Regions from separate parts of the Homo sapiens genome. Here region 2 is linked to region 1. Evidence: promoter capture Hi-C in 16 types of primary human blood cells and fetal thymus (Javierre and others, 2016). All regions are on one chromosome and are shown on one strand. Each heading gives the region's core, a stretch centred on a gene start or on the middle of the fragment in contact. The rest is flanking DNA. Distances are from core to core; before and after follow the strand shown. Region 1 holds the start of ZNF614 (zinc finger protein 614). Region 2 holds the start of ZNF649-AS1 (ZNF649 antisense RNA 1).

Region 1 (3,708 bases), core at 674-3,173:
GTCATCACCATTCTCTAATCTCAACTACCCAGAGACACAATACACTGCGGAAGGCCGCGGGGACCTCTGCCTAGGAAAACCAGGTATTGTCCAAGGTTTCTCCCCATATGATAGCCTGAGATATGGCCTCGTGGGAAGGGAAAGACCTGACCGTCCCCTACCCCGACACCTGTAAAGGGTCTCTGCTGAGGAGGATCAGTAAAAGAGGAAGGCCTCTTTGCGGTTGAGATAAGAGAAAGGCATCTGTCTCCTCCTCGTCCCTGGGAATGGAATGTCTCCGTGTAAAACCCCATTGTCTGTTCTATTTACTGAGATAGGAGAAAACCGCCTTAGGGCTGGAGGTGAGACATGCTGGTGGCAATACTGCTCTTTATTGTACCGAAATGTTTGTGTGCGTGCACATCAAGGCACAGCACGTTTCCTTAAACTTATTTATGACACAGAGACCTTTGTTCACATGTTTTCCTGCTGACCCTCTCCCCACTATTACCTTATTGTCCTGCCACATCCCCCTCTCCGAGGTGGTAGAGATAGTGATCAATAAATACTGAGGGAACTCAGAGACCAGTGCCAGCGTGGGTCCTCCGTATGCTGAGTGCTGGTCTCCTGGGCCCACTTTTCTTTCTCTATACTTTGTCTCTTATTTCTTTTCTCAGTCTCTCATCCCACCTGACAAGAAACACCCACAGGTTGTGGAGGGGTGGCCCCCTTCAAGGTGAATTCTCAGACAGATCAATTTTAGGAAAGAGAACACATGGAAGGCTCCAAGAATGTCTTTAAAAACCACGTGTGCCCATGTACTGGTTCGAAAGTCTCTGTAAGCTCTTTGGGTATACATACCTCGTGTCAAGACCAATGTACTAAGCAAATCACAAGAACTGTCTCATTTCACATTATGCGCTAAAGGAGTAACTTTACCCAAGAGAGCTTTGTCCTTTGCCCACAGTTCCTATGAGGCAAACTCTAAGCCTTTGGAATACGCTGCTTGATAAAACTGTCTTTGGTTATCAGGGCAATTTAAGCCATGCCAAATTGTCTATCCTAATAATGTGATTTACTGTGGGAGACCTTGGACCACGTGGTATTAGTTTGATATCTGGAGGAGCTGGAGATTGAAGTCAGCCTCATAGGCAGTCAATTGTGTGTGTGTGTGTTAACTGATATCCAATAAAACTCTGGACACCAAGGCCTAGGTGAGTGGCAACAATGGTTACAATGGCTGGCAATAATAATATAAGGGTGTATATATAAGAATATGATAATTTAAAAACGTATGAAGCAAAACAGAATGAGAGAGGATTAGACAATTCAACAATAATAATTGAAGACTACATTACCCTACTTGCAATAATAAAGAAAACAAATAGAAACTCAGCAAGGATACCGAAAACTTGAACAACATTATCAACCAACTAGACTTAACGAACATTTAACACTGCACTCAACAGCAGTAAAATAAACATTTTTTTCAAGAGCACATGTTATATTCTTCAGGAAAGATAATATCCCATGTGATAGCCTGAGATAGGGCCTCATGGGAAGGGAAAGACCTGACCGTCCCCCAGCCCAACACCCGTAAAGGGTGACTCACAAGGGCCCCAGACCCAGACAGAGTCGGACTCGTCGCTGATTTCCTCAGACTCTTCATCCCTACAGCCAAAGGACCCGTCATTAACGCCCCGCTTCCTCAGCGACTGCGTTCAAATACAGCCCCAATCAGGACGCTCCACGCACCATCGGTACACAGACCCACAGGCCGCGAGTCCATGCCCAGAACTCGACTCACCCGAGCCCGAACCTCTCCAGACACCACTGGCAGCGACAAAACGCCGCATCCACGTCCGAAAACGCTTCCTATTCAGACGCGCTCCTGCGCGGACTCCGGGAAGCTGAGCGGTAAAGACCGTGAAGCGAGGCGAGGACCACGGAGCCTGCCCGGGATCGCGAGTTCAGACTGCGGGCGCCGCTCTATGAGGTCACAGGGCTGCGCCCATCGCAGCGTTTCTGACAGGAGCGGCCATAATGGCTGTGGGAATCACTCTTAGTCACCTCAGTGCCTTTCTCTCTTCGTTGCAAGGGACACTCAAGAGTCGGGTGCCCAGCCAAGGCCAACACGGCGCAGTGGCATTCTATTCAGCCTGCTGTGGAAAAAAGATGGCGGCGCCCTTTGTGCCCATTATAGCTGAGAGTGGAGCCTTAGCTGGAGCACCATGGGCACGGCCATCTTAGAGGAAGGCAGCAGCCGTACGGCAGAGAAGATGCTCATATCCAGGACAATTTGGAAAAATAAACAAGGTTTGAAGAAGTCACGGTGCTGGCCAGGAAGCGGTCACAGAGTTGCCAAAACCAGTGGTCACTGAAAGTGTTAGATTTGGGGATAGGGCGGGGGTTCTGGGCTGGGTAAGGCTTTTGTGGGTTAGATTAGACTCTGACTGAATGGACGAAGCCGAGAACAGGAGTGATGCTCCATTAAATGCTAATACCCACATGGGGCTTGCTATTAAAACCACTGCCAGTGGGGAAGGGGATGAGGAGGTGAAGGTGCAACTGTGTTAATATCTACATGTTTCCTTCCAGAAGTAAAGGAAGATGACAGTGGGGCACTTAAGAATATGAAATTATTAGAATGCGATCATCCTACTTTGCAATGTTTCCAGATTTTTTAAAAAGTCACACTTAAAAAATATTAGTTCTATTTTTGCAGATGTTGGCGTTGTAACTGTAGAAGATTTAAGTAAATATTGTATTTTTGGAAGGCAACCTAGAGCCAATTTAATTTTTTCGTTTTCTTTGACACAGCAATTCTAAAAGCTATCTAGGCAAATCTGTCTTAATATTAACCACAACTTTTGTAATTTACAAAAAAAGGGAATTACAATGAGAGATGAATACTTTGGTAAATTATGGAACATCTGCTGAACTGTAAGAGTATATATCAATTTAAAAGAATATGCTACAATTGTTTTATAAAAAAGAAAACTTTGTCAGAGGACAAAAAAATGATCTGCAGGATAGTATATATTTTATGGTCTTGTTATTGGAAGAAATCATAAACATCTTTTGGAAAATTGTGATTGGTTAAACAAGACATTTAGTTTGAATTAATATTGTTTGTGTTCATAGGTAGAGAATGCCATGTTTTTACTTGAAAAATATTCCCAATTTATACTTAATTTTACTATCTTTGTACCATAATCATGAATATATTATAAAACATGTTGATCTTAGAAAATAGGTATGATGATGTATAATAAGTTCATGGCATGATAAATGCAAAATAGGCTGTTTTCTTTCAGAAAATAAATATGCTCATGCATTTGAAAAATTCTGGAGAATATACTAACAATATTTGACTGTTCCGTACAATTATGGTGACTTAAAATTTCTTCATTTTACTTACGTTTTGTAATTTCTAGAGAATAAGAATTTCATGTTCGTATTTCTTGAGTGTTATAACATATTCCATCCAGGATTAAATTTCAGCCCCGTTCATCTGGAATGTTAATCTCTGGTAGGTAAGTTTAGCACCTGGTCCACAGGACTATGAGCAGCCCATGATGGGACCTTCACTGATCATTTCCAGGAGTGGGCTGATAAAACTTTGCCGTGGCAGGCTGTGCTGATTCACGGGACAAGGAAGGTGATTCAAGGGCCTGGTTGGTGGAGCACTTTTGTCTGATTCATTGCTGGAGACAATCTGCCCTGAAT
Region 2 (3,713 bases), core at 901-3,400, 140 kb before region 1:
TACGCATGTGATAAGCAATGAACACGAACTGCCCAGAGCAGTCTCCAACACTGACACGATTCGCTTCCCCACCACGACGCCCTAGCGCTACTGTGCAACGAAGACCTCCCAAGCACTGGTTCCAATGCGGAGACCATGGGCTCCCAGACTCTGGGAACTCCAACACGACTGCGAAACGAACTCCGAGCGAGGACTCCCCGAGAGCTCCCCGCAACACGGACCTCACGCGCTAGCGAACAACAGAAAAAAAAAAGCGCGCTCTCCCTGCCCCTGAAACATTCCCAGAAGCCCACGCAGACCAGACCGATGACCTGTCTCCACTGCTGGAGGCGAGTCAGGGACCCGAAGTCTCTAAACACTCGCCTCTACCCGCCGCCCCGCGAACCCCACACACTGCAGACGCGACACTCGCAAGTTTCGGGGATGGCGGCCGGCGAGGGCCATACTGCGTCTTTCCGGAGACACGGAATACGGCACCAGCCGTCCCTTTATGATGCAATATGTCTGCGCCCAGGGGACGCTTGCTGGGAGCAGCCATTTTCAACCCTACTGCCGTAGAGCAGGCGGAGTCCCTCTTTTCGCGCCTTAAGACAGGTAGGTTCTGACGATGAAAAGCAATTGAAAACGACCCATTTCACCCTTTTTCCAGTCCACGTGAACTGCTAGATCTTGGCTTTGCAACATTAGCCAGGGGCGCTACATAAACTGCTTAGTTTCTCAAAGGCTCAAGCCTGCCCTGATCTGTCTACAGGATGGGTAGAGATGGTCACAGACATTTAGGCACTTTGATCCTAAGAAGAATGGAAAGAAACCATGTGGCGCGGCAGTCTTACAGGAATTTCAAGAGGGAGGGACCTGAGCAACAATCGGAGGGGTTATTACTCCTGAGGATGCATCTGGCTGGAGAAAGCAGCCTTTGAGAACTGCCTAAGAAGTATCTTTACATCTACATCAGATGTAGCCTCAGAGGAAGGAGTCAGTCATAGAATGGATAAAACAACCGCGTGTTAAAGCTTTGGTTATAATTGGTGTGGAGAATGGAGAACACAGTTGATCAGCAGTTGACAAAGTGGGGAACCAACACGAAAACAGGGCTCTCTCACCCTGGAAAAGCCAAAGGCAGAACAAGCCTTTACATCCAGGAAGGTGGGAGCAACTTGAAATCAAAACTCTGAAGGGGAGATGATTCTGTTCAATACTGAAACTCAGCTGATCAATTAACTGATGAATTCTAGCACCAAACCTGCTCCCTATAATTTTATAACCAGCCTCAGAGAACCTTTAAAGGGATTGATCATTCACTCATTTATCCAGCGAATGTTTATAAAATGCCTAATGTGTCAAACACTGTTGTGCGTGCTGGGAATACAACAGTTGGAAATTCAGGCACAAAGACTCTCATTCATGGAGATTACATTCTACTGGCAATTTCAGTGTGTGAGCTAAATTGAGTGGTGCTAACTGTTGACTTGGCTGGTTGACTGAAACTTGGACTCAAAATTTGCCTACACTAAATGAAGTTTAAATGCCAGAAATTTCCTCATATATTATAAAGTACCCAAAGATAAATGGAGTTTGGAATGCTAGAATGAATTTATCATGTAAAATCAAGATTACCCATACCTCAAATATGTATTCCAGTAGCATCTAGAAGACAATCTCTTCACTGACACTGATCTGGTCACAGGAAATAGAGATATACTACTGTAAGATTATTTTATTATACAGTAAGTGATATAATGTCCTTGAAGTTAGAATGATAAGTTCATGATTTTCTTTCAGTCAGTTCAGGCTACTAGAAAAAATACACCATAGACTGACTGACTGCCTTAACAAACATTCATTTCTCACGTTCCAGAGGCTGAGGAGTCTCTAGAACTGGACTCTAAAACACAATCAAGGTGTTGGCAGGTCTAGTGTCCAGTGAGAGTCCATTTCCTGGTTTATGCATGGTCATCTCATTCTGTCTTCACATGGCAAAGAGCAGAGAAAGAGAAAACAAACTCTCTTCTGTGTTGTCTCATAAGACACATAATCTCATCATGAGGGTTCCACTTTCAAGATGTAATTACCTTCCAAAGGTCACACTTCCTAATGCCATCCCTTAGGGATTAGGACTTCAACATGTAAATTTGGAGAGGACATAAATATGCAATCCCTCACAATGATGTATGCTATAAAATCTCAAGGAATCAAATGACAAGGATTTACAGTTAATAAGCCAACAAAGGAGACAATATGTAATATAAACACACTCAGCTACTCTAAGGGAAAGCAGAAAAAGAAGAAAAGGAGAACAAAGAAGACATAGAATAAACAACAAATAGTAAGTTAGTAATTTAAACCTAAAAACATCAATACATTGAACGTAAATGATCTAAATACCCCAGTAAAAAGACAGAGATTGTTAACTGGATAAAAAAGGAAGGCCCAACTGTATGTTGCCCACTAAACACCCACTTTAAATATGAAAGCATAAATAGGTTAAAAGTAAAACCATGATAAATAAAGATATGAAAGATATAACAGGGAAAAACCCATGTCAAATTATTAGAGGTTAAAAATTACAATTTCTGAGAGAAAACATACTTTGGATGGGATTAATGACAGATTAAACACTGTGGAAAAAAGATTAGTGAACTGAAAGACATAGCTATGAGAACTATAAAAAATGAAATAATGAAGGGTAAAATAATAAAAAGCATGAACATCATTTTCATGTACATATGTGTATACACAAAAAGATTTGTGAACTTGAACAAGGCAAGAGATACAATCTAAACTACAAAGAGAACAAAAGCTAACCCCTACCTTGGCCCCCGGAGTAAGAGATATCATTCTGAGGAACACCAAGTGGAAGCCTCTAAAACTGCCCCCCTCCCCAGCCAAACTCTATGATCAAGATAGTAAATGAAAAACAATATTGTGGGAGGGGTAGTGAGGTTTATAAGATATAAAAAAGTAAAATATATTTCATATCTTGTAAACCCTACTATACATATTAGTGCAGGGAGCCAAAGGCCCATGGGACATGACAAACTCAGCATTCCGCTGGAGGCTATATGATCAAACAGCAAACTGTTTATCATGAATGCAGGATGTGGGCAAACTCACACTGCCCTGCCACCATTGCCACAGTTACCATATTAACAGGGCTTTTCCCCTGCACATGTTCACTAGGACTTAAGCTGTGACTTGCTGTGGAAGGATTTTCCACCTTCACTGAATCCCCCCGTTTCTCCCTTGAGTGTATTCTCTTATGTTTAACAAGGCAAGACATATAGAAGTAAGCTTTCTCACACTCATCACAGCCATAGGGTCTCTCTCCCGTGTGAGTTCTGTGATGTACAATGAGCATTGTCTTTGTAAGGAAGGCTTTCCCACAGTCACTGCATTTATAGGGTTTCTCTCCTGAGTGAATTTTCTGATGTCTAATGAGTCCTGACTTCTGTGAACAGGGTTGCCCACATTCAGGACATACAAAGGGAGTCTTTCCTGTATGATATCTCTGATGTGCTACAAGGCAAGACTTCTGGCTGAAGGCCTTGCCACAGTCAATGCATCCATAAGGTTTCTCTCCAGTGTGAGTTCGTTGATGTATGTTGAGATTGCCCTTCTGAATGAAGCCTTTTCCACATTCACTGCATGTATGAGGCTTCTCTCCTGTATGAGTTCGCTGATGTACAACGAGTAGTGATTTTCTGGAGAAAGCT

The links. Contacts are between HindIII fragments. The CHiCAGO score rates a contact against its expected background, and 5 or more counts as called.
Region 2: a fragment that was not itself captured here is called in contact with the fragment with the promoter of ZNF614 in region 1 in 1 of 17 cell types (fetal thymus); the score reaches 5.8 in fetal thymus.

What each region holds. Positions count from the first base shown.
Region 1 is chr19:52,026,456-52,030,163 of GRCh38, forward strand. It overlaps ZNF614 (zinc finger protein 614), which reads right to left and starts at 1,924. Exons shown (of 5, transcript NM_025040.4): 1 at 1,787-1,924. LOC112268244 (a long non-coding RNA gene) reads left to right here. Exons shown (of 2, transcript XR_002958414.2): 1 at 1-83; 2 at 657-3,325. RefSeq lists enhancers at 411-1,181, 1,652-2,411. The HindIII fragment of the contact is 7,426 bases long and covers 1-3,708 here.
Region 2 is chr19:51,887,533-51,891,245 of GRCh38, forward strand. It overlaps ZNF649 (zinc finger protein 649), which reads right to left. Exons shown (of 5, transcript NM_023074.4): 5 at 1,703-3,713. The coding sequence ends at 3,086. ZNF649-AS1 (ZNF649 antisense RNA 1) reads left to right here and starts at 493. Exons shown (of 3, transcript NR_110733.1): 1 at 493-594. ZNF577 (zinc finger protein 577) reads right to left here and starts at 419. Exons shown (of 6, transcript NM_001370449.1): 1 at 1-419. RefSeq lists an enhancer at 1-543. The HindIII fragment of the contact is 2,278 bases long and covers 1,012-3,289 here.